Regions from separate parts of the Homo sapiens genome. Here all the other regions are linked to region 3. Evidence: promoter capture Hi-C in 16 types of primary human blood cells and fetal thymus (Javierre and others, 2016). All regions are on one chromosome and are shown on one strand. The core of a region is centred on a gene start or on the middle of the fragment in contact, and the rest is flanking DNA. Distances in the headings are between cores, read along the strand shown. Region 1 overlaps VSIG10 (V-set and immunoglobulin domain containing 10). Region 2 overlaps TAOK3 (TAO kinase 3). Region 3 holds the start of PRKAB1 (protein kinase AMP-activated non-catalytic subunit beta 1). Region 4 overlaps SUDS3 (SIN3A corepressor complex component SDS3). Region 5 overlaps SUDS3 (SIN3A corepressor complex component SDS3).

Evidence for each region. Contacts are between HindIII fragments. The CHiCAGO score rates a contact against its expected background, and 5 or more counts as called.
Region 1: a fragment that was not itself captured here is called in contact with the fragment with the promoter of PRKAB1 in region 3 in 1 of 17 cell types (total CD8 T cells); the score reaches 6.4 in total CD8 T cells.
Region 2: a fragment that was not itself captured here is called in contact with the fragment with the promoter of PRKAB1 in region 3 in 2 of 17 cell types (naive CD8 T cells and total CD8 T cells); the score reaches 6.3 in naive CD8 T cells.
Region 4: a contact is called between a fragment that was not itself captured here and the fragment with the promoter of PRKAB1 in region 3, in 2 of 17 cell types (total CD8 T cells and naive CD8 T cells). The highest score is 6.1, in total CD8 T cells.
Region 5: a contact is called between a fragment that was not itself captured here and the fragment with the promoter of PRKAB1 in region 3, in 1 of 17 cell types (naive CD8 T cells). The highest score is 6.8, in naive CD8 T cells.

What each region holds. Positions count from the first base shown.
Region 1 is chr12:118,064,353-118,069,370 of GRCh38, forward strand. It overlaps VSIG10 (V-set and immunoglobulin domain containing 10), which reads right to left. Exons shown (of 9, transcript NM_019086.6): 8 at 4,025-4,245; 9 at 1-2,342. The coding sequence ends at 2,287. All of the region lies in intron 1 of LOC124903030 (a long non-coding RNA gene), which reads left to right. Among named protein-coding and RNA genes, the nearest start is that of WSB2, 5.7 kb to the left of the region's middle. The HindIII fragment of the contact is 187 bases long and covers 2,062-2,248 here.
Region 2 is chr12:118,352,089-118,356,959 of GRCh38, forward strand. The region is part of intron 1 of TAOK3 (TAO kinase 3); the gene reads right to left. Among named protein-coding and RNA genes, the nearest start is that of TAOK3, 18 kb to the right of the region's middle. The HindIII fragment of the contact is 2,961 bases long and covers 2,123-4,871 here.
Region 3 is chr12:119,665,552-119,670,593 of GRCh38, forward strand. It overlaps PRKAB1 (protein kinase AMP-activated non-catalytic subunit beta 1), which reads left to right and starts at 2,582. Exons shown (of 7, transcript NM_006253.5): 1 at 2,582-2,852. The coding sequence starts at 2,694. It overlaps PRKAB1-AS1 (PRKAB1, TMEM233 and CCDC60 antisense RNA 1), which reads right to left and starts at 2,576. Exons shown (of 3, transcript NR_188494.1): 1 at 2,392-2,576. RefSeq lists enhancers at 150-294, 2,429-2,838, 3,277-3,912, a cis regulatory region at 214-231 and a silencer at 2,059-2,328. The HindIII fragment of the contact is 11,826 bases long and covers 1-5,042 here.
Region 4 is chr12:118,388,328-118,393,831 of GRCh38, forward strand. It overlaps SUDS3 (SIN3A corepressor complex component SDS3), which reads left to right. Exons shown (of 12, transcript NM_022491.3): 5 at 1,600-1,619; 6 at 2,799-2,955. Among named protein-coding and RNA genes, the nearest start is that of SUDS3, 15 kb to the left of the region's middle. The HindIII fragment of the contact is 2,379 bases long and covers 2,652-5,030 here.
Region 5 is chr12:118,408,451-118,413,584 of GRCh38, forward strand. SUDS3 (SIN3A corepressor complex component SDS3) reads left to right here. Exons shown (of 12, transcript NM_022491.3): 11 at 2,623-2,707. Among named protein-coding and RNA genes, the nearest start is that of SUDS3, 34 kb to the left of the region's middle. The HindIII fragment of the contact is 2,358 bases long and covers 2,053-4,410 here.

The sequences.
Region 1 (5,018 bases), core at 905-3,404, 1.6 Mb before region 3:
CAACAGATGTGTGTGCTAGAGAAGAGGAAGTTGTGGAAAATATCCCAGTGATCCTACAAAACATTCTCTGTGTTCCTAGCTAGGGTTTTTTTTTTTTTTCACCTCAACAGTTTTTGTGTTTTCTTTTTTTAATCTTGTTGCCTCTGAGTAGTAGACTCTTCAATTCTGGAATTTGGTTGCCGAAGACTCTAAAGGAGAGACTCACTCAGTAATTCAGTGACTTTAGAAGCAAGCTGAGTATCTCATTCTAAAATGACACTGATTTACACTGTTGAGAATGGTTAAGTACGTGGGGTACCTTGCAGCAAAAGACAAAAAGCAAAAAGCCAGTAGACCTGCAATTCACAGCTATTCCTGAGGGGTGCACATTGCAGCCCACTCTTGAGCTCCCCAGTGTTCTGAGCAGGGGACAGGGCATACTTCTAGTGATTTGCTCAGTTTAATCCCTTCATCCAAGAAAACAGACCTTCCCCAACCACACCTGCAGGGTTACTTCAGACAACCAGCTTCTCATTTTAGAGTCCCAGTTCCTAGAATTGGAGAAAGGAAGTTCCCCTTTAAGCCCTAGGTCCTGCCCACTAGAGCAGATACGCAACATTAAAGAGTGCAAATTCAAGTCAGTTTTTCATATTTAGCAAACATCCATTGCACCCTTATAAGGTCCTCGACTTTAAGAAATTTATATGAAATCGGAAAACTTAAATCTTGAAACTATACAAGGATCTACTGGAAGCATCAGCAGGCTAAACTCATCACATGGTATTTTCATTCCAAATTTAGTGTTATTGATCAGTGTACCCTCAGAATATCCTTAAGAAGCAGGAAGGAAACAAGTTTTCCTCTTCCCACTTCCAAGACTGAGAAAGAGTCCAGATGAGCTGGTTTGCCCAAGCAATTCTTATCACCAGATACTCCGTTATTAAACGTGTCTCCTGCCTTCTTTGAAAGCAACAGGAGAAATGAAGCATAGGAAAGTCTGCAAGCTAACAGTGTATCACCTAGGAGGCTTGTATATAAATATGAAGCTCTGCAAAATGTAGTTATAATGAAAGGCACTTCCTATTACCAGCTCCCTAACTCTTTTTAAAAGAATTCTATCTCCAGGGAAATAAAACTGGTTAAGACAGTGCTCTGATATGCTTAGTTTAGTTCCTTCATCCAAGAAAACAGACCTTCCCCAACCACACCTGCAGGGTTACTTCAGACAACCAGCTTCTCATTTTAGAGTCCCAGTTCTTAGAAATGGAGAAAGGAAGTTCCCCTTTAAGCCCTAGGTCCTGCCCACTAGAGCAGATACGCAACTTTAAAGAGTACAAATTCAAGTCAGATTTTCATATTTAGCAGGTGATCTTACAAAGATATTTTTCAATAAATGGATTATGTTTTTCAATGAATGGATCTTACAAAGATGTTTTTCAATAAATGGAAGGAAAGATGTGTGTGCTTGGTTTTTTTGCTGAGACCCAAATGTTGCCAGTGCAATCCCCCACCAGGGGTACAGGTCAAATCAAAGCTGAATGAAGAGCTCATCTTCGATGTAGCTTTCCAAGCTTTCAGAACGAGACAATAATAAGTGAGCAGCTTCCTCATCTATTTTACAGGTGAGGAAATTGAGGCCAAGAGAGAGGTAAAGAGTCGTGCTCTAGCCCATGAAAGAAGGAAGCAACAGAGCCCAGATTCAACTTCAGGTGTTTCTAACTCCAAAGCCTGAACCAAACTGCCTTCCTCTGATTGGCATTGGTACCTGGAACTTCACCTGTTCCAAGGAGCTGATATTTGCAAGGTGCCGTGGCTGAGGCAGGAGAATCGCTTGAACCTGGGAGGCAGAAGTTGTGGTGAGCCAAGATCGTGCCATTGCACTCCAGCCTGGGCAATAGAGGGAGACTCCGTCTCAAAAAAAAAAAAAAAAAAAAAAAAAAGCGGCAAAAGGCACCAAGACCCAGTGCTTCCCTGACCTCTGTTCCCTCTAAATCAGCATCTATCACAGTAGATCAACCTGGATAAAGCCAGGATTCACAGCAGAAGTGGCACCTCAGACACCAAAGCAGCTTTCCTTCTCAAAGCTTTTAAACATCATTGGGAAAACTTAGAGCAAATCAAACCAATGTTTTTCAATACATGGAAGGAAAGATGTGTGTGCTTGGTTTTGTTTTTTGCTGAGACCCAAACATTGTTAGTGCAAGCCCCCGCCAGGGGTGCAGGTGGAGTCAAAGCTGAATGAAGAGCTCGTCTTCAATGTAGCTCTCCAAGCTTTCAGAGCAAGACAACCATGGACCATCCTCTTCTTCAGACTGGCCTGTCTTCTTCTTGAACAATGTCACTTTGCTCCTCACTGCTGTCATCTGTATGGGGGGAAATAAACCCAATGCTTTGTAATCAGAGTGTGATTCTATTTCCACCGTCAGTCATCAATCATCTCAGTGATTTCTAGTCCTTTCCTGGTGAGCCACAGAATGGGATCTCATGGAGAAGGTAGGGCAGCGTGTGTTTTCCCCTTTTCACCTGTTTTCTACATTCAGAACCTCTAGGCATGCTTGATACCAGTCACCCTTCATGTCCTCAGCTCACGCCCCTCCCCTCACCTGAAACGCCCTCTCTCCTTTCTGCTTATTCCAACTCAGCCGTCTTAACGCCTTGCTTCATGTCTACCTCTTCCATAAAGCTTCCCCTGACCAGCACACCTCTCCGGGCTCTTATCTTTCTCTGAGGTCCTATAAATTTTGGTGCAGTGGCACGATCTCATCTCACTGCAGCCTCAACTTCCCAGGCTCAGGTGATTCTCCCACCTCAGCCTCCCAAGTAGCTGGGGCTACAGGTACATGCCACACACCCAGCTAATTTTTTGTATTCTTAGTAGAGACACGTTTTGCCATGTTCCCAAGGCTAGTCTCGAACTCCTGAGCTCCAGCGATCCACCCACTTTGGCCTCCCAAAGTGCTGGGATTACAGGCATGAGCAACCGTGCCTATAATTTTTAAATGTGTTGTCCATCAGGCAATTAATCAAATATCTTCCTGCAACAGCTCCTCTACTGCTCTCTCAGTGTGTTGGTTCAATCTTGCTCCTGTTTCCATTTCCCCTGCAGGTTTTAGTTTGTTCCCCTAAACTGGCCTTTTTTTTTTTTTTTTTGAGACAGAGTCTCACTCTGTCACCCAGGCTGAAGTGCAGTGGCACGATCTCGGCTCACTGCAGCCTCCGTCTCCCGGGTTCAAGTGATTCTCCTGCCTTGGTCTCCCAAGTAGCTGGGATTACAGGCACCTACCACACCCAGCTGATTTTTGTATTTTTAGTAGAGATGGGGGTCTCACCATGTTGGCCAGGCTGGTCTCAAACTCCTGACCTCAAATGATCCACCTGCCTCAGCCTCCCAAAATGCTGGGATTATAGGCGTGAGCCACCGCACCTGGCCTGAACTGGTCTTGTAAAGCTCCCTGCATGCAGACACTACCAGTCTCTATTTTCTGTTCTCCCACAATGCCAATATTGTGCCTACCCTAGACCAGGACCTTGATAAGTGTTTGTCAATTTGATTTTCATGTTGGTAGTTGATAGTAGTCTCAGGTTCTAGACTAAAGTTTAGCTATCTTCCCCAGCCTTTTAAAAAAACTAAACTCACCCCTTAGAGATTTCCTGCTGGGAAGCTCACCGCAGCAGTTCAGAGGTTTGTGGGCTTTTTTTTTTTTTTTTTTTTTTCTGAGGCAGGTTTCCTACTGCTGCCCAGACTGGAGTGCAGTGGTGTGATCATAGCTCACTGCAGCCTGGACTTCCTACACTCAAGTGATCCTCAGCCTCCCAAGTAGCTGGGAACACAGGTGCACACCACCATGACCGGCTAATTTTTCTTTTTTTTTTTTTTTTTTTTCGTAGAGACAGAGTCTCACCATGTTGCCCAGGCTAGTCTTGAACTTCTGGGCTTAAGTGATCTTCCCACCTTGGCCTCCCAAAGTGCTGGGATTATAGGCGTGAGCCAACGCGCCTTTTTTTGTTTGTTTTCTGTTTGTTTGTTTAAGGAAAAAGAGCTTACCTTGAAGATCCTGGAATCCATTTCCCATCTGTTCTATGTTCCCATTCACCAAGGCGGTCACTCTGTGAATGTGGTCCTGCTTAGGTATTTCTTTTGGCAACTCCTCTCTCTCACGTGCTCCCTCCTGTTCCCCTACTGCAGCATCTTCCTCCTCCTCCTCCTCCTCCTCCTCTTCCTCTTCTGAATCCACCAAAACCATGACATCATCCATGTTTTGTCCCCTAATTTCCAAAGGGGAAAAATAATCAAGAAGATTTCTTATTTTTCCCAACTTCAGCCCTCACTGAATAGGAAACACTAGATTCTTTGCAACCCCATTAGTAATATGGAAAATTACAGCTTGGTGAAGTAATGAGGTGATGGTGTGGTAACCGCAGAGATGCTGCCACAAATTGCTTCAGATGATGGTATCTCATGCTGGTTTATTACTCCCCTGCTCCTTGGGCAGGTGACCATATTGTCCCAGGCATCTACCATTTCATGTCCCCTTACAGCAGGTAGACAAATGTTTTTCCTTTTCTGAAATGCCCTCATTCTGCTCTACTTACCAAAATCTCTCCCCTTCCTCATTTTGGAAGACCCAGGTAAAGTCCTCTCCCTCCTGCTAAAGACCTAAATTAATGACTGCATTTAGAGTCCATGCTATAGTTTATTTATCACCAGCTCACTAGCTTGCCTACCCAGCCAGACTTTGCATTTCAGACTATACATTTCTTTTTTTTTTCTTTTTCGGGATAGAGTCTTGCGCTGTTGCCCAGGCTAGAGTGCAGTGGCGCAATCTTGGCTCACTGCAACCTCCACCTCCTGGGTGCAAGCAATTCTCCTGCCTCAGCCACCCAAGTAGCTGGGACTACAGGCATGCGCCACCACATCTGGCTAATTTTTGTATTTTTAGTAGAGACATGGTTTCAACATGTTGGCCAGGCTGGTCTCGAATGCCTGGCCTCAAGTGATCCAACCACCTTGGCCTCCCAGAGTGCTGAGATTATAGGCA
Region 2 (4,871 bases), core at 2,353-4,852, 1.3 Mb before region 3:
GTCTCGATCTCCTGACCTCGTGGTCCGCCCACCTCGGCCTCCCAAAGTGCTGGGATTACAGGCGTGAGCCACCGCGCCCGGCCTAATCTATAGTTCTATAGGATGGAAAGCTGTTATTATCAAAACTATATCTCTCCAACGGCAGCTGGCTATATCACTTTAATAGCAGCACTTTGGGAGGCCAAGGCAGGTGGATCATGAGGTCAGGTGTTCGACACCAGCCTGACCAACATGGTGAAACCCTGTCTCTACTAAAAATACAAGAATTAGCCAGGCATGGTGGCATGCACCTGTAATCCCAGCTACTCAGGAGGCTGAGGTAGGGAGAATCGCTTGAACCTGGGAGGCAGAGGTTGCAGTGAGCCAAGATTGCGCCACTGCACTCTAGCCTGGGCGACACAGCGAGACTCTGTCTCAAAAAAAAAAAAATCATATATATACACATATATATACACACATATATAGTTTCTCATAAAGAAAAGCAAACATATCAATCTGTAACCAATTACAAAACTGTCTTCATTTGTCTCACATTTTTCTGTAAATGAGGTGACAGACTGGACCCAAATAGGAAAAATACTCAGGTCCCTTCAACATTACTGTATTACCAGGGTTACTGATCTTATCTTATTTATTTTTTGAGACAGAGTCTCACTCTGTTGCCCAGGCTGAAGTGCTGTGGCACGATCTTGGCTCACTGCAACTTCCACCACTGGGATTCAAGCAATTCTCCTGCCTCAGCCTCCCAAGTAGCTGGGATTACAGGTGTGTGCCACCATGCCTGGCTAGTTTTGTATTTTTAGTAGAGACAAGGTTTCACTATGTTGGCCAGGCTGGTCTCGAACTCCTGACCTCAGGTGATCCATTTACCTTGACCTCCCAAAGTGTTGGGATTACAGGAGTGAGCCACTGTGCCCGGCCTGAGTTGACTTTAGATAAGCATGATGAAATACATTTACTATTTTTTCTTTCTCTTCAAAATCAGTTTCCTCCGCCTTATGCTAGGAACTGTGAAAGATTTAGCTAAAAGATATGGTGTTTGTATTCAAAATGTTTACATTAGTGAAGATACAAGAGTGTGTGATAGAAGACACTACACAGATTTTTGTTCATTGGTTTGCTAAATTAAAAATCACCCGAGAATTTGCAGGAAAATAGTAGGAGTAGGAAAAGCATCTAACAGGTAGTACACTTCACACAGGATCTTGAAGGAATGGTAAAATCTGCGTAGGCAGCGAGAAGCTCCAAGCAAGGGCTTTTTGGGTGAAGTAAAAGGCAGAGACTTGAATGAGTTTGGTGTGTTTGAGAGACCGACTTCAATAGAACAGAAAGAATAGGCCCAAGATCATAGGAAATGAAGCTGGATAAATAGTGTACAGGCAAATCAGAAAGGGTGTCGAAAGTCAAGCAGAAGAAGTTAGATTTAACATAGTGGAAAACAGGGAACCACTGAAGCTCTCTGAAAAGGGAGTGACATGCTAGAAGTAGCATTTAAAGAAGATTCATCATGATGAGTTGGGAAAAAGAGACTGAAATGAAGGCAGGCCCCTGTGGTAGTCCAGGAACGAGGCAACAAGGGTCTGAATGGGAAAGGTGCACGAGGTGCAGTGCATTTTACCAGCGATGTAATGAGCCTTGAGACTATTATGTTAGGAATTCTCAGAAACAAGGAAAAACATGGAATAAGCCAGGAGCTGGCTAGGAGACAAAGGGGTTACATTACAGATTAACACCCTGAAATTTTAAACACTAAAAGTATATTCACAACGGCTAAACATTTTTTTTTTCAAGTATCCTATAAGGAGTTTCCTTGTTTGGTTTAGTGAATTGACTGCGGGTGTCCCCTAAATTTCACATCTGTTTTGCTAACACATCCCTATGAAAATCTGCTTATGTAAGAATTAGTTTTAATATTTTCAATACGTCAACAAAGTTAACTGACCCAATACAAGATATGAACCCTAGAGTCTCAGATTGTGAGAACGGAAAACATTCTTTATGCAGTAGTTGTCCTTATGTGTGGGGAATATGTTCTAGAACATCCAGTGGATTTATGAAACCATAGATAGTATGGAACTCTATATATACTATTTCCTTTCCTATATATACATAACTACAATGAAGCTTAATTTATAAATTAGCCACAATACTCTTGCACTTTGGGGATGTTATTAAGTAAAATCAAGGTTAGTTGAACACAAGCACTGAGGTACCACAACAGTCAATCTGATAACCAAGACAACCAGCTACTAAGTGACGAATAGGCACGTAGCATCTACAGTGTGGATAGGCTGGATAAAGGGATAATTCATTTCCCTGGCTAGAAGGAGTAGGTCAGCAGGAGATTTCATCACACTACTCAAAAGGGTAAGCAATTTAAAACTCATGAATGGGGCCAGGCACAGTGGCTCATGCCTGTAATCCCAGCACTTTGGGAGGCCAAGGCCAGAGGATCACTTGAGGCCAGACCGGATTTGGCTATGTCCCCACCCAAATCTCATCTTGAATTGTAGCTCCCACAATTCCCAAGCATTGTGGGAGGAACTCGGTGGGAGGTGAGTGAATCATGGGGTGGGTCTTTCCCGTGCTGTTCTTGTGATACAGTCTCATGAGATCTGATGGTTTTATCAGGGGGAGTTTCTCTGCACAAGCTCTCTTTTTTGCCTGCTGCCATCCATGTAAGACATGACTTGCTCCTCCTTGCCTTCTGCCATGATTGTGAGGCCTCCCAAGCCATGTGGAACTGTGAGTCCATTAAACCTCTTTCCTGTATAAATTACCCAGCCTCAGATGTCTTTATTAGCAGCGTGAAAACAGACTAATACATCCTGTCTCTGCAATTTTTTTTTTTAATTAGCTATCTGGGAGGCCAAGGCAGGAGGGTCCCTTGAGTCTAGGAGTTTGAGGCTGAGGCTGTGGTGAGCTATGATCGCACCACTGCACTCCAGACTAGGTGGCAAAGTGAGACTCTGTCCCAAAATAAATAAATAAAATAAAACTCATGAATGGTTTATTTCTGCAATTTTCCACTTTAGTATTTTTAGACCACAGTTCACCATGAGTAATTAAAACCACAGAAAGCAAGACAGGATAAGAGGGGACTATTGTATTCAAATATACATGTAAATATCTATGTTCTATTGTCACCAAAACAAAAAAAATTTTTTTAGCTGATCTAAAATCTTAAGACACAGTCCTAACTTTATCTGAGTGGTGTACTCAGAAGAAAACAAACACACTCTGCTGAGAAAATAACATTTTAAGAAATCAACACTTCACCATGTTGTTTCCCGGGCTGTTCCATCAAATTGGGAGGAAATGATCTCAATTGAAACAAAATGAAAAATGTTACTAAAGTGAAATTTGTCAGATTATATAATCATTTTGATGAATAATTATTAAATCTACAGTCGATCCCTGTCTCCTTCTTCCTATCCCCTTGGAATGGGTAGTACACAATGTGGTAAGAGGAAGGGCATAAATAAGATCGGTGGATTTCATCCCTGTGTTCCCTGGTACTTTCTAAATACTTCTATTATTATAACGCTGATTTTATTATCTATACATAATGCCATGTGTTGTTGTATCTCTTTCCATGATCACTTTCTGGTGAAGCTATGAATGAGAACTGAAATATCCAAAAATGGCAAAAATAAGCATAACTATTCTTGCACACTGAGCTCTTCCTTTACAGTGTGTGGCCAAAATTATGCTTTTCATACATTATTTCATTTAATCCTCACAACAATCCTGTGAAGTAGGTATTATAATTATATCAATTTTACAGAAGAAGAAACTGAGGTTTCGGGGAGGTTAAGGGATTTGTGCAAAGTCACAAAGCTAGTAGGTGGCAGACATGTTTATCTGCCACACTCTTATTAAACATTAAACTATCCTGCCAATCCCAAACCTATGTGACAGAAACTGAAAGTAAGAAATACCAGAAACCTGGATATGCTGCTGATCATGTAAAAGAATTAGGGAAGGGCATCAATTCTAAGAATTGTGTGATACAAATGATAGCTTCCTTGACTCACTTCCAACCTTTCCTTGAACTGAAAACATGGCATTCCATTCCTGAAGGAGAATGGGACACTACTATGCACTGGGAATGTAACTGTCCCCTCCCCTCTTTTAGTAGGATAACTTGCATTACTATTTGATGGTATTGACAGGATCTCAATATCTTCTCAATTTGGTCACTTTCTTTTTTTTTTTTTTTTTTTTTTGAGATGGAGTCCGGCTCTGTCGCTCAGGTTGGAGTGCAGTGGCACAATCTCAGCTCACCGCAACCTCCGCCTCCCAGGTTCAAGTGATTCTCATGTCTCAGCCTTCCGAGTAACTGGGATTACAGACTTACACCACCACGCCCAGCTAATTTTTGTATTTTCAGTAGAGACGGGGCTTCACCATGTTGGCCAGGGTGGTCTCAAATTCCTGGCCTCAAGTGATATTCCAACTTCGGCCTCCCAAAGTGCTGGGATTACAGGCGTCAGCAACAATGCCCGGCCTCAATTTGGTCACATTAAAAAAAAATGATATGGCCACGTGCAGTGGCTCACACCTGTAATCCCAGAGTTTTGGGAGGCAGAGGCAGGAGGATCTCTTGAGGCCAGGATTTTGAGACCAACCTAGGCAACACAGCAAGACTCCCTCTTTACAAAAAAAAAGAAACTTTAAAAAATTAGCCAGGCATGGTGGCACATGCCTGTAGTCTCGGCTACTGGGGAGGCTGAGGCAGGAGGATCACTTGAGCTCAGGAGTTCAAGGCAGCAGTGAGCTATGACTGTGCCACTGCACACCAACCTGGGTGACAGGGTGAGACTCTGTCTCTAAATAAACAAGCAAGCTACTACTTAGATCAGCCAGTT
Region 3 (5,042 bases), core at 1,332-3,831:
TTTTCAATATGGGGTCAATAGCTGATAGATACCAATGTTAGTTTCTTTGTCATGAAATCTTGATACAATGTGGTAAGAGTTTCCAATCAGCAGTTGGTGGCATCCTCAGGATATTGTTGATTGTATTTGACATCAAGGGCCACCCATGCTTTCACTGTTATCTTATTCAAGCTAGTGCAGATGTCTTAAAACTTTCTTCATGCATCAAAGCATCTGCATAGCTCAGATAAAGAATCCACAGCTCATGTGTTCTTTCTTATCTCTCCGGCTGTTTGGGAGAGATTTCAAAACTCAACACCCCACTGTCTCATGTAACCAAGTCAGGGCCACTATTAGAAAAGCAGCTCAAAGAAGATATCCTGGGTCATCCACAGTATCTTAGCTTATTTAATTCAGCAAGCACATTCAACATTTCTGATTATACTGAATACATTCAAATTCTCAGTCATCAGCTTCAGGAAGACCCTCCTGGCTCCCATCCCTTTTCCTGGCTCCCATCCCTTTTCCTGGCCTGGCTTAAGTCCCTTCTGGGCTCCCACAGGATCCCTTACCTAGCTATATTATTGCTTTTCTGTGGGTCGGTGCCAGCCTGTACTGTATTAATTCCTTTGGGGCTGGAACCATATCTTATTTTTTTAAATTAAAAAGTAGTACATCCTCACAATAGAAAACTTTTCAAATACAGAACTATATAAATGAAAAGTGAAAGTCCCTTTTCTGTCTGCTCCTATTTGCAATCTCCCTCCTCTCCCCACAGAAGACCACTATTAACAATGTGTTGTATACCCTTCCAGAACTTTCCATTTGCTAGCCTAATAGTGCTAATAAAAGTGTTAACAGTTATTGAGTGTTTACTAAGAGTCAAGTGCTATGCTCAGCATTTTTATGCACGTTCCCAATTAATTCACAAAACAAGCCTATGAAGTAGGTGTTATTTTTGTTCCCATTTCACAAAAGAAGAGACTAAGGTGACAGTTACTAAATGGTAAAGCCAGAATCTGAACATGGCCAGGCTGAATTCAGAGCTCCTGCCCTTGAACTTGTTCTCTCACTTGCTTCCGGACCTTGCAATATCATAGACACTTCCCCATAGTGACCTAAAAATGGTTTCTCCCTTTTTAAAAGTTGCTTGGTATTCTACAAAATGAATGTATTCCATTCATTTTGCCATTCTCCTACTGAACAACTTTTAGGATTTTGTAGTTTTTCATTTCCTTATTTCACCAAGTGTAAGATTCCATTATTGTAAAAAGCATCCAGTTTCAGAAATTAAAATATATGGGGGCATGGGGGGTGACAAGTGCATCTTAGAATATATTTTTGCATGTAAATATTTTGTAGATAATGCTTGTAAATAATTTTCATGTGTGTATTTCTGCACAAGTTTCCTAGGAGTAAAATTGTGTGTCAAAATGAAGGTGCATTTTTAAATTTTGATGCATACTGCTGAATTCCCCCCAGGAAACCTTATCTTAGTCATCTTGTGTTCCTCATTTCCTTAGCACAATGTCTGGTACTTTTTTAGGTACTAAATAAATGTTCAGTGGGTGAAATGCATGACCTGACCCGGCAAATGCAAAGTATTTTGAGATATTCACACACCAAAAAACCCACAAAATATGACAATGACTGACAATGAGAAGATGAGAATATTTTACTACCGTATTTGTATGCACTTCTTGTTGAAGCACTGACCAGAGTAAATGACAAACGCTAATGCATCTTATGCAGAAGGATGTTTCCGAAGTGATTACAAGATATCTTGCAAAATTACCTATCAAAAGATTGCACACTCAATAAAAATACACGAATAACTCCAGCATTTTACAACCCCCAACCTACTAGACATAAGAAATTTCCAGAGATCTTATGGTCTGCCATTTTTTCAAATACCTGCAAGACTGCCTGCACCCCCGACCCTAATCTGTAGAAATCATGATTCTGCAGGTCTGCAGTGGGGGATGCATTTAACAAGCGCTCCAGGTTAACCTAATGCACTGTAAAGCGTGAGAACACGTGCATTAAAAGGGCTTTAAGAAGTGGAGTTTCTGAATCAGATTTGCATTTTAGAAAGATCCCTCTGGCTGCAGAGTGTAGAATCAACTATAAGTGAGCAAAGATAGCTAAATGGCATTATTCAGCCCAGCGCATGAACGGCTCAGATTGCCCGCGCGCTGGGGTGCCCCCTGCCGGCCCTCGGCAGCGCCTCGTCCTGGGCCTGGCCCTGGGCGGCCGGCTGCTGACTGCGACTGCGCGCTCCGAGGCCTGCAGAGACGGCCCGGGGCACCTGTTACCGCACCGCTCAAGACCGGAAGCGGAAATGGAATCGAGATAGCCTCGCGCGTTTAGCTGGCCGCCGCCACCTCCACGCCCTAGGCCGGGCCGACTTACGGAGTCGCCGGAAGCGGAAGTCGCTGAGGGGTGGTGAAGCGGTTGGGAAAGTGTCGGTTTATCTTCGCGCCCCTTGCGTTCTTGCCGCGGCTTGCCTGGGCAGGTAAAGCGCGATTGCGAGAGCTCGGCAACCCTGCCGACTCAGCCGGAACCGGCTCCCGGCCCGAGGGGCGTGGTGTCCTGGTGCTCCGACTCCTTCCGCAGGCTCCTTGGGACCCGCGGTTCCGGGAGTCCCTTGCTCAGGGTCCCTTTCCTGCAGTGAGGCGCCGTCCGCCTTCCCTGTGTCCCCGCAGACCCCCATCATGGGCAATACCAGCAGTGAGCGCGCCGCGCTGGAGCGGCATGGTGGCCATAAGACGCCCCGGAGGGACAGCTCGGGGGGCACCAAGGACGGGGACAGGCCCAAGATCCTGATGGACAGCCCCGAAGACGCCGACCTCTTCCACTCCGAGGAAATCAAGGTGCGAGCGGTGTGGAGGAACCCGATTCCCCTTGACTAATGTTGAGGAGAGGAACCCTCCACTAGATTCCCGTCACATCCTTTCGAAAAACACCAGAACGGAGAGGGAGGTGGTACATTACCCGGTGCACTTAAAAGCCAGATGGTCCTGTAAGAGTTCTCTTAGCGGTCCAAGAACCTGTGTCTAATTACCAATATGAGAAAGTCACCCTGAGGGAGGAGGTGCTCACTTGGTTTAACATCATTAAGGAGAAAGCAGCTCTGGGACAGAGTTTCAAATTCTTAATTAATTCAGAGTCGAGCTAACAGTAATTGAGCCCCAGCTTCTGCTTTTCTCTTAGGTGTAATTAATTGCACTGCTTTGAGACAAATTCCCTCACCTTTACACAAACTGGAGCTTTTGTAAAAGTTAGTTTGGGAATTTATCCATTTTGGAGGCAAACCAGGTACATATACAAGCTGAAAGTAGAGCGGAACAGCTGACGGCAGTTGCCAGAGGTGTTTAGTTCTGCCCAACACTTTTGATTCACCCTACTTATTTTTTAAAAGACGGTGGTCTCACTAATTAGCCGGGCGTGGTGGCGGGCGCCTGTGGTCCCAGCTACTCGGGAGGCTGAGGCAGGAGAATGGCGTGAACCCGGGAGGCGCAGCTTGCAGTGAGCCGAGGTCGCGCCACTGCACTCCAGCCTGGGCGACAGAGCTAGACTTCGTCTCAAAAAAAAAATATAAATAAAAATAAAAAAGACGGTGGTCTCACAATGTTCTCCAGGCTGGTCTCGAACTCCCGGGTTCAAGCAATCTTTATGCCTTGGCCTCCCAAAGTGCTGGGATCGCAGGCGTGAGCTACGGTGCTGGCCGGTTCAGCCTACTTTTTTTTTTTTTTGAGACCGAGTCTCGCTCTGTCGCCCAGGCTGGAGTGCAGTGGCGCGATCTCGGCTCACTGCAAGCTCCGCCTCCTAGGTTCACGCCATTCTCCTGCCTCAGCCTCCCGAGTAGCTGGGACGACAGGCACCCGCCACCACGCCCGGCTAATTTTTTATATTTTTAGTAGAGACGGGGTTTCACCGTGTTAGCCAGGATGGTCTCCATCTCCTGACCTCAGGAGATCCGCCTGCCTCGGCCTCCCAAAGTGCTGGGATTACAGGCGTGAGCCACTGAACCCACCCTACTTATTTTTTTTTTTTCCTTCTTTGAGATGGAGTCTCACTCTGTTGCCCAGGCTGGAGGGCAGTAGCACAATCTCGGGGCACTGCAACCTTCGTCTCCCGGACTCAAACCATCCTGCCTCAGCCTCCCGAGTAGCTGGGACTACAGGCGTGTGCCACCATGCCTGGCTAATTTTGTGTATTTTTGGTAGAGGTGGGGTTTCGCCATGTTGCCCAGGTTGGTCTTGAACTCCTGACCTCAAGTGATCCGCCCGCCTGGGCCGCCCAAAGTGCTGCGATTACAGGCATGAGCCACCACTCCCGGCCTCACCCTGCTTTTTTTTAAAGCGTACATAGAAAAGTCTTTCAGCTTCTAGAGGTCAGTGGGCGGTGAGGGTCTGTCTGAAGGAGGCAGCCAGCAGCTACTGAACTTCTCTCTAGTGTTGTTTAAATATGACTTAATCGTGCTTAAGCAGGCCAGTGCAAACATTTTTCTTCCTGCTGCAGCCTGTTTAAATTCAAAAACTCAGGTGACTTAACTCCTGCTTCAACCACACTCCTGTTAACCACCTTCATATGGTGGATATTTCCAGCCGCAGGGCTCAGTCCAAGGACACTTAGTGATTCTGGCAGCTGGTATTTATGTGTTATGTCCAAAAGGAACTAATTGTTTCAAGGAACAAAGTAGGTTTAGGAAAGATAAAGCTGCCCTCTGCCCAACATACCCTGTTAGTATCCAATTTCATGTTAATCATCATCCATTTAATTGCTTGGCAGCTCATTCCATCTGTGTTTGTCCTCATGTTGAGCGAGGTGATCACATCTCACACCTTCTTTTGGATCTTAGTTTTGAGCCTGACTACAAAGAGGCTGCTTTTATGTGGCCCTACAACCTGTGGTTTGAACTTGCTCTCTGAATTTGTTGCATTCTTGAAGAGCTGTGTGCAAAGTGAACTTTAGAATCATGTTTCTCTAATGACTTGACGTCCTTTCCCCAGGAGGTAATTTTGGTCCCTGGTCCCAAGAAGGCTATTTAAGACACCAAA
Region 4 (5,504 bases), core at 2,591-5,090, 1.3 Mb before region 3:
TTGTTCTGGGGAAGGGGTCCATAGCATTTGCCAGGTTTGCAAAGGGGCCCCTGGTAGACTGAGAATAGCACACCCTGGAGAATCTTTGTGGACTGTACGCACAGCCCCCTGTCACCCAGGAAAGAGTAGAAGCCATGGAGCAATTTTGCTTCAAGTTGCGGGTTTGTAGACAGGTTTGTGCTCTATTGTAAATCTAGTGGTGAGGGGAGCTGCTAGGTAACAGTTACTAATCATCCGGCACATGGTAGGTGCTAACTAAGTTGTTGAGTGCTGTTAGATGGGTGCTTTAAGGCATCTGAAGGGCATGATGTGTGAAGAGTCAGCAGGAAAGGCCTCAGGAGGGGGCTGCATTCAGTCAGGAACTTGGGAATGTGAATAGGAGGTCAGAGGGCATTGCAGGGACAGACAGCGTGAGCAGAGCTTGGTGGCCTGACAGTGAAGCCCCAGGTGTCCCTGGAGCCTCTGTCCTATGGATTATCTGTGGAGGTCCTTCCTTACCACATATAGCCCTTCATATAGTGCTTTAAAAAGGAGGTCCTGGCCGTAGGCAGTGGCTCACGCCTGTAATCCCAGCACTCTGGGAGGCTGAGGCTGGCGCATCACCTGAGGTCAAAATTTCAAGACCCTCCTGGCCAACATGGTGAAACCCCGTCTCTACTAAAAATACAAAAATCAGCCAGGTGTGGTGGTTTGCGCCTTTAATCCTAGCTACTTGGGAGGCTGAGGCAGTAGAATTGCTTGAACCCAGGAGGTGGAAGTTGCTGTGAGTCGAGATCATGCCACTGCACTCCAGTCTGGGTGACAGAGCCAGACTCTGTCTCAAAAAAACCAGAACCCCCCAGAAAACCAGGGGTCTCCATCCTTCAGGCTGCGGACCACTGGGCTGCTTTCCCCCACCTGCCGCCTGCCCCCCTACCCTGCCCCAGCCCGTGGGAGAATTGTCTTCCACCGAACTGGTCCCTGGTGCCAAAAAGGTTGGAGACCACTGCTTTAAAACATCACATCCACTCTGTTTCTGGAGTAATTGCATTATTTCTTCTTGACCCATCCTGCCACTGTGGAGACTGTTGGCGGGTGGACTGAGTGAAAGATGGGATAAGTTTATTTTGCCAGGGGAGTTTGGTTCCTGCTGCACGTTTTTTGCCCTCAGGCAGAACTGCCACAGCTGATATGTTCAGGGCCACATTTTTTTTTTTTTTTTTGAGACCAGGTTTCGCTCTGTCACCCAGGCTGTAGTACAGTGGCACAATCTCAGCTTACTGCAACCTCTGCCGCTCAGGTTCAAGTGAGTCTCCTACCTGCCTCAGCCTCTCGAGTAGTTGGGATTACAGGCGCCTGCCACCATGCCTGGCTAATTTTTATATTTTTAGTAGAGATGGGGTTTCGCCATGTTGGCAGGCTGGCAGGGTCACATTTTAACTAGACTTGAGTACTTGTCATGTCCTTTCCCTTCGTGTATATCAACATTTCACTGATGAAAACATTTGCTTTGTAACATGCTTTCAGAAAGCAATTACTGCTTCTAAATGAATGCTAACATCACTGTCTAGAAAGGTGGCACAGCCTAGCAAATCTAATTGCACTTTTTATCTCTTGCAGAACTCTTCCTCCAGCTGGAAGTAAGTACCACGGATCTTCTGGGTTTGCAGGCCCTGTCTGAGACTGGAATCTTGCAGTCCTGATCTGGTGGCTTTTCCTTCTATCACCAAGTAGATAGTTTGGAAGCCTTCACCACTGTTCTGTTTGACTTAAGGACATTTGGTCTCAGCTCAGACATCCTGTCTGGTCATTTGTTGTTGCGCAGCCTCTGCTTATCACAGGGGAATAAGGAATACTCATCCCTAACTGCTTATTGACTTCTATCCCGTGTTAGAGCTGTTTGGAAGTCTCTGAGTTATAACGGCCTAATAGTTTGATATTGGTCCTTGAAGCAGTTCAATCTCTGAATTGGCTCAGCAGTTCTGTTTTACAGCTGCAACTCTCTGGGCCAGTAAAAAAAGACAGATTTCTAATTTTTCCTTTCATTCCATGGACACCTGAGTGCTGGTTCTGTGTCAGACTCTGTGCTGTGATACAGAGATGAGGGCCTGAATCTTGAATGATGTACTGCTCCCAGAGTGGCTAGCATGTGTGTGGGGGTTACTTTTTGAGAAAGTCATGGTTTTTCAGAGCCACATTATTGGAACCCAGTTTCCTTAAATCAGTGTGGTGCCCATAGTCACTCAGCCAGAAGGATCACGTGATCAGCCTGAAGGTACACTCAAGTGAGGTACTCACATCCTTAGCCCACCATAGGCCCCTATGTCAGTCACCACAATGGCGAGATTTGAAAAGCGGAGGCATATACAATTTTTGTCTTAGTATAATATCAATATATGTATACTTTGGGGTTCAGGCACTTACTAAATGTTGTTCCATTCTTTTGTCTTGCTGTATCAAAAATAATAGTAACTTTTTGAATATACACAATTTATCTAGAATCTATTTTCCTTTGAAGCTGTAACTTTATGAGCGATTATTTACTACCTTTGAGAAATGTGTTTTAGTATAAAATATAGGATGTGGAAGCGAAAAAATATCTGGGTAGCAAGTGAGGTGTACTCAAAAATAAGCAAAAGTCACGTGGGTCTGATTTTATACCCTCGCTGGAAAGCTTGTTCTCAGACACACTGTTACTGCAAGTGTGTGTGAGGGGGAAACTCTCACACACTTTGCAGTTGAGGACAGGGCTAGACTTTGAGTTGGAGCCCTGGCTCCCAGGGCTGTGTACTCCCAGCCCGTGTTTCTCTTTTGCTCAGACTGAACAAGTGGAACGAAATTACATTAAAGAAAAGAAGGCAGCAGTGAAAGAATTTGAAGACAAGAAGGTTGAGCTGAAAGAGAACCTGATTGCTGAGCTAGAAGAAAAGAAGAAAATGATTGAAAATGAAAAGCTGACAATGGAACTGACTGGAGGTAGGAAAGCCCTATGGGGTGGGATCTTGGGGGCCCTGAGCGGGGGGGTGTGAAGGGCTGTTCCAGTTACTTTTGTCTTACATTTCAAGAGCAGAGCAAGGTGGAGAGTGGGTTTTGACCTCATAGATCAGAGTTCCTCCTCCACCTTCTATTGGCTGTGTGACCTTAGTCAAGCTGCTTAACTTCTCTTTTCTCCTCTATGAAATGGGGCTGATCATACCCTCTCACAGGATTGTGGTTAGACATATGAGTGCCTAGTACAGTGTCCTGTGCATAACAGATGTTCAATAGTTGCTAGACCTTTAATAGTAATTGCAAGCTCTGGCTTAGACTCTACTTAATTCCTGGGTCTGCTGCCATTTGTATCTTGGTTATGTTCCCAAATTGCTTACGCAAGTCCCTCTGTGGTGATGGGAATCCCTCGCTTTGTTTTTTTCCAGTCTGCCTTAATTACAGAAAAGGTATTGTCTCCCTTTGACCTAGATGTAAGAACAAAGGCTTTTGGCTATATCCTCTATGCTATTAGATCTCTCCTGCCAGGTGTTACTGAACATTTCAGAAAGATTTGATATGATTCCAACAGGATAGCCAAACTGAACTAGTTTCCCATAAAGGTAGGAAAGTTACATGAGACTCAGAGCCAATGCCTTTCTAACCTTCTAGAATTTAGTAATCCACATATGGGAACTCAGCAGGTTGTAGGCAGGTTTCAGGGAGAAACAATATGGGCCAACTCTTCTGTTGCCATATGTAGACTGATGATTCCTAGAAGGATACAGGGAATTGGCTTGAACTAGCTATTTTGGAACTTGGCAAATACTGCAAGGCAAGTCAGTGGTGAGTTTGTCACTTGGATATGGAGGTGGCATGCCTTTCTGTACATCCCCAAATTTAACTCTTACAATTCGGAAAGTGCTGGGGCTCTGGTGTGTCTGATTTTAGCAGGGTTCTGTAGGAAATGCATGCAGTGTTTTTGTGGACGTTCTCAGGGCTGACTTTGAAATTAAAAGTAGCCAGTTAAGATCTTTGTTCCCCTCTATATATTCCTGGTGCTGTGAACCAGCTTGGCCTTCTGACTGACACAGACTTCTGGCTCCAATCCTCATGATACACTTAAGAGAATGTGGTTGTGCCTAAGGTGGGGTCTGACTTTTGAAAAATCTCTCTTCTGTTAGCTTCCTCATAGAGAGAGTTGGCAAAAGAAATGAGCTCCTTGAAGGCCTCTGAAAGCAGCTCAGAAATGTTTTTTTGTGAGAATGGATGCCAAAACAGCAGCTAACAGCAGCTTCAGGCAGTATAGTCTTGTTCTTGTGAAAGTGCTTATTTAATGAGACCAGTAGCACCGTGGTACCTTATCTGGTACCAGTCTGCCTGCCGGCTTTTGGACCTGCACACCATTTTCTCTGACAGTGGCTGTGACTGGCATTGATGCCTCATTGTTCTCTGCTAGAGCCACCAGATGTTTGGGAGCCTTCATTAGGCTAGTGGGAAATATTATCCGTTTACAGCTGCTCCCTTTCCGTCTGTGGGGAACGGGTATCATCACCTTACCTGTGATTTGGCGTCCTAATTATTGACAAGCGATAGACATTGTTTGGCCAGGCAGTTTTACAGCCAGAATCTTAACTGGGACAGGAGGCATCCTCAGTGACTTGAGGCTGAGCCTGCCAGGGTAGAAAAGACAAATAAATGTAGGGAAATCATTTGTAACGCAATAAAATAGATTACAGAAGTGTTTAAAGCTAGCCATGGGCATTAAAGGTATGGATGTCCTTCCTCAGGGCACCTTTGATACCCTTGGTATGGAAAGCACTGCCAAGGTAATGATGGAGTGTTGGAAGACAAGGTGCTGGAGCTAGAAGGGTAATTAACATTTCCACAGATGGCGCTGCTATGGTGTTGGATTAAAGGCTTGATTTCATTCCTCTAATTGAGTGACTTAGTTCATCTTTGTGGATTGATGCCCAATATCATTGTTGCCCAGCTCTGCCCTGAAAAATACTTTTTAAAGTCTCCTTTTTTGGTTCAACATGAACGTCTCTTGAAAAGCAAAGTAGGATAAGACGCTGATGAGAAGCTTAGTCTAAATAACCCACTGGAAACGGGTGTATTTGGCGACCTGCTCTTTCCCACCATGACTTAAAGCGTTTATAAACCTCCATAGGAATTGGCAGGATGTACTGTTCACCGCCCAAACCTCTTGTGGAAAACTGGGTTGTTCAGGTAGAAATGAGTAACTGTACATAGAGAAGCTAGGAAGAATTATAGGTCAGTGCATCCCAACTTCAATGTGTTAGGTCAGTGGGGTCTTGATAAAATGCAGATTCTGTTTCAGGGGCTTTGGAGTGGAGGCTGAGATCCTGCATTTCTTTCTTTCTTTTTTTTTTTTAAATTTAATTTTTTTTTGAGACCAAGTCTTGCTCTGTCGCCCAGGCTGGAATGCAGTGGCGCAGTCTCGGCTCACTGCAACCTCCACCTCCCATGTTCAAGTGATTCTCCTGCCTCAGCCTCCCAAGTAGGTGGGATTACAGGCATGCACCACCACGCCC
Region 5 (5,134 bases), core at 1,982-4,481, 1.3 Mb before region 3:
AGCCTCCCGAGTACCTGGGATTACAAGCGCACACCACCATGCTGGCTAATTTTTGTAATTTTAGTAGAGATGGGGGTTTCACCATGTTGGTCGGGCTGGTCTTGAACTCCTGACCTCAAGTGATCCACCCACCTCGGCCTCCCGCAGTGCTGGGATTACAGGCGTGAGCCACTGCACCCAGCTGTAACATGTGTATGTTTTATCATAAACACAGGAACATAGTTGACATAGTTTTTTTTGGTTTTTTTTTTTTTACCTACCAGTATATGGAGCATGTTTCCACACTCGTAATATTCTACACCACATCCATGACCTTTCTTTATTAAAGTGTTTAGAAAGTTGTATCAGAATGACTTGAGGGTAGTTGCATTTTGTTTTGTGTCTTTATCTCTTTAATAACTTACAGTCCCTTTAGAACAACTGTGAGTATTCTCCCTCTGTATTTTTATTTTAACCATTACTCAAGACATGACTGTTTACATAGGAGAGCTGGCTCAGATGTGAGAGAGAAACAAGGGGAAGTGTTAGTGTTAGTATGAACTTAGCCTTTTCTTATGCATTGTACAGTTCGGCCCTTGTGATAATACATATTTAGCATAATGAAGGTCCCCTGCCAGTTTACCAACTAATAAAGGGCCAAAAGCAACTTTAAAACTTGCATTTAAACCATTCTCGCTGTTCTAATTGAATTTAAAATTCTTTTTTTTTTTTTTTTAAGATAGAGTCTCGCTCTGTTGCTCAGGCTGGAGTGCAGTGGCATGATCTTGGCTTGCTGCAAGCTCCGCCTCCGGGGTCAAGCAATTCTCCTGCCTCAGCCTCCCGAGTAGCTGGGATTACAGGAGCCTGCCACCACTCCCGGCTAATTTTTGTGTTTTTAGTAGAGATGGGGTTTCACCATGTTGGCCAGGCTGGTCTCGATCTCCTGACCTTGTGATCTGCCCACCTTGGCCTCCCAAAGTGCTGGGATTACAGGCGTGAGCCACCACGCCCGGCCTAAAATTCTGTTTCTTTTAACAGTATTTTCAGAAAGTACATTGACTTGGAAACCTGAGTTTTCAGTTCATAAGTAGCAGGTTAAAGAGAATTGAGACCCTAGACTGGAAAAAGCTCATTATGGGAGTGAAGTGCATCCTTTACTTGCCATGTCTTGGCAATAGGTTATTTCCTTATACCAGCAAAACAGAATAAGCCATCATGCTTTGCTGGGAGATGTGTTTTACTAAATTTACACGAGTTTATGGGTCTGGTTAGCCAGATCTTTGCAGCCAAAATGAACCAAAGTTTATGTTATTAATCGACGTGGGGCTGGCCCAGGCCAGGGTTGCTAGCTGCAGCTCCGCTGATACTTCCAACTCTTGTAATCCAGCAGGGGCTCCTTCATCCTGTGGCAGCTGCTTTTGTCCCATTTGGGCTTTGGCCCCCAGCAACTTCACTTTCATCCTTGGCCTTGTCTCTGAACTTGTAGAAATAAGAAGTGGCCCTACACTACAGGTTGAGAGTAGATGCAGGAGTTGAAAGGGGAGTGTCTGTCTTATCTACTGTATTCAAAGCAGCTTTCCCAACTGTCCAGGCCAAATTAGATACCCTTTGGTATACGTCATGGCACTTGGAACTTTGCCTGATTAGCTGTTACCAGGTGTGGTTATTTAATGTTCCTTATCCCCAGTGTATTTGAATCTCTGTGATAGTGGAGAACTTGTGGCCTTTCTCACTGTTTGTCCCCAGCCTCCAGCATAGTCCGTGGTACACAGTAAGTGCTTAATGAGTATTTTTGAATGACTGACTAAAGGGTTAAAGTCAGCCTTCCTTCTTGTTGGTGACTGACTTGGACAAATAGAAAATAAATAACGGTGGCTTATGCCTGTATATTTTGTCTGTCCAACCTTCTTCAGTGTTCTGGTGTGGGGTCAGAAAGGGGAAACAGAGTTTTTATTTAACAATTTTTAATTTACTTTTTGAACTGGGTCATATAGTCCAAAAAAAGGGAAAAATACATAGTTTTCCAACACTTTCCTCAGCCTTTTCCCTTCTGTAGAGGGACCAAGGAATATAAGCTTTAGATCCCAAAGAAGATTAGGTGGTCTTCTAACCTAAGGATGGAAGCCTTTATTTATTTATTTATTTATTTATTTTATTTATTTATTTATTTATTTATTTATTTTTTGAGATGGAGTCTTGCTCTGTCGCCCAGGCTGGAGTGCAGTGGCGCCATCTCGGCTCACTGCAAGCTCCGCCTCCCGGGTTCACACCATTCTCCTGCCTCAGCCTCCCAAGTAGCTGGGACTATAGGCACCTGCCACCATGCCCGGCTACTTTTTTTGTATTTTTAGTAGAGACGGGGTTTTACCGTGTTAGCCAGGATGGTCTTGATCTCCTGACCTTGTGATCCGCCTGCCTCGGCCTCCCAAAGTGCTGGGATTACAGGCTTGAGCCACCGCGCCTGGCCTCAGGATGGAAGCCTTTAAATTAAGCTAAATGGGAAATCCAGGCTATTCCTCAAATGTGAATTATTAAGACTTCTTTAATTATAATTTTTGTTGTGATGGTGTTTTTGTTTTGTTTGGTTTTTACTTCCTGTCTCTGTCCCTCCCTTTTTAAAAATGTGTGCCTTGTTTTTGTCAGGTACCACAAGAGCCAGGCCATCTATCTGGAGTCAAAGGACAACCAGAAACTGAGCTGCGTGATCAGTTCTGTAGGAGCCAATGAGGTGGGAACCACACTCCCTCACCTTTAGGGAAGCAAAATGTGTACTGCGAAGTGTTGGTAGGGCAAACCTGAAATGAAAGTGCCACCAAGGAAGTACAGTGGAGTACTGTCTTCTATGTGGGTTAGATTCTAAAGTCAGGCAGAAATTGCACATTGTCAAAATCATCCTTGAAAAGTCCTTACATTCGCTTGACTACAACATATGCGGATTTGTCTATTCCATGGGGTATTTGTGAACTCCCGGTACAGCTACTGATTTGGGAACCACGGAGCTAGATTCCAGGAAAGAACAAAAAGCAAGTCTGTGTGGTGTCTGTACATTCAACTCCTGCTTCTTTTTTTTTATTTTTATTTTTTTTGAGACAGAGTCTCACTCTGTTGCCCAGGCTGGAGTACAGTTGTGCTATCTTGGCTCACTGCAACTTCCACCTCCCAGGTTCAAGTGATTCTCCTGCCTCAGCCTCCTGAGTAGCTGGGATTACAGGCACCCACCACCACGCCCGGCTAATTTTTGTATTTTTTTTTAAGTAGAGATGGGGTTTCACCACGTTGGTCAGGCTGGTCTTGAACTCCTGACCCCGTGGTCTACCCAGCTCGGCCTCCCAAAGTGCTGGGATTACAGGCGTGAGCCACCACACCTGGCCAACTCCTGCTTCTTTTTAAGGTAACCATCTACTGAGAATGGAGCTTGACTGTGGAGCATACTCCATCTTGGTTTTGTTTCTCTAGAACTTTCACACATACCAGTAGATTTGTTTCTTGCTGTGAGGATTGAATGAGGCACCTGGCACAGGGTCTAGCACCCAGTAAGTGCTCACTAAGTGAGTGCTGGCCTGAAACGACCCACACGCCACTTGCCTGCCGTCTTTCCTAGCTGAGATGTCCTATTGTGCTTCAAAACAAGTTGCCAGGGTTATGCCCTTGGTTTTTGGTCTCCTCGAGACACTCCTTTAGGATGGATGGGGTCTGGTTTTAAAGTCAGCTCAGAGGGTTATACCTGAGGATGATATGACTGCCCTCTGAGTTCTCCAAGTGGTCTTTCATGAGGAGTATATAAGCAATGTGTAACTTATGTTGTTAGTTAAAGTTAAAAACTTTAATAGCTGGATTGGCTTGATCTTTTATCAGTCCACAAATGTCTGCAAAGAAATTGATTTCTATGTGTCTGCCCTCTGTAACTTATTCGTGCCAGTGCACAGTAAATGTAATGAAACTGGATTATGAAGTAACTTAAGCCTCTTCTATTCTTCCAGCTTCCTGAATTGAAAATGCCCTGAAATGTGACTAGTTTGCAAAATGATTGTTTACTTAGAAGTTAGGGAGAGCCTTCTAGATAAATGAATGCCATTCTTCTCTGGGCTGAGGATCCGTGTGAGTCCCCTCAAGCCAAGTCAGAACCAGAACAGGGAAGCTAATAGAGAGACCTGGTCCTCAGCCAAGAGGTGTCACGATTTCATGGTAATCATTTGCACCTGGCTGTCTGGGTTGTTCCACAAGCACATGTGGCCTTCTAGTACCTGACCCTAACTTCAGAACCAGTGCATTATTCTCCTCTATGATACCTCAAGATTTTTCAGAAAAATATAAATGCAAGTTAGATTGTTTTTCCCCTCTCTCTGCCGAATATTGTCGCGTCTTGACATAATAGAGTGTCAGTGAGATCTGACAAATGGTGACACTGAAACACGTCTTCTGGAGGGGAGAAGCTTCAGTGCACTGAAGACATGCAACTCTGGCAATGGGGAAACCGTTCTCATTTCTTGAAAGTGTTCCAGCTCATTTTTCAGATCAAATTCTAGGTGACACTGGAGCTACTTGGCTTTAGCATAGCTTGACTCCAAGCAGGTTTGGTGGGTAGCTCTGAGTGTGTGGATGACTCCCTGACTTAGCTTTTCTTGGGATCAGTTTTTCATTTAAAATGATTCTGCAAGGTCCCTTGGAGGCTTAGCTTCATGTGAGGTCTTTAACTTTTTAAATTTTTAAGCCAGTGTATTTGACTTTAAAGCAGTAGAGATACTGCTGAATAATCACATTAAAGAAATTGAGATGAAACAGAATAAGCTTTTTTAAAACCTGAAAACTGAGTCCAGGAAGGAGGAGATAAATCTGTAAACTTGTATATTTGGGTGAGATGCAGACCTTTCAAAAAACTGTGCTTTTGGCTCTATTTAATTGCATGTTACAGAAAAACAGGCAAGAAGAAGCCAGAGACTGCTTTAGTAGAGAAGAGCCAGGGGCTTTGATGTCAGACACCAGAATTCACGTCGTGATAAGTGACTCAGCCTTGCTGAGCTTTGGTTTCCTCTTCTTTAAAATGGGGCCAATGATAGTAGTTATTTCATAGGGTTGTCTTGCGGGTGAAAAAGCTCAGCCTGATCAGCATGGTGTCTGGCACACAGAGCTCAGTAACCCTGGCTCAGGGGGTCAG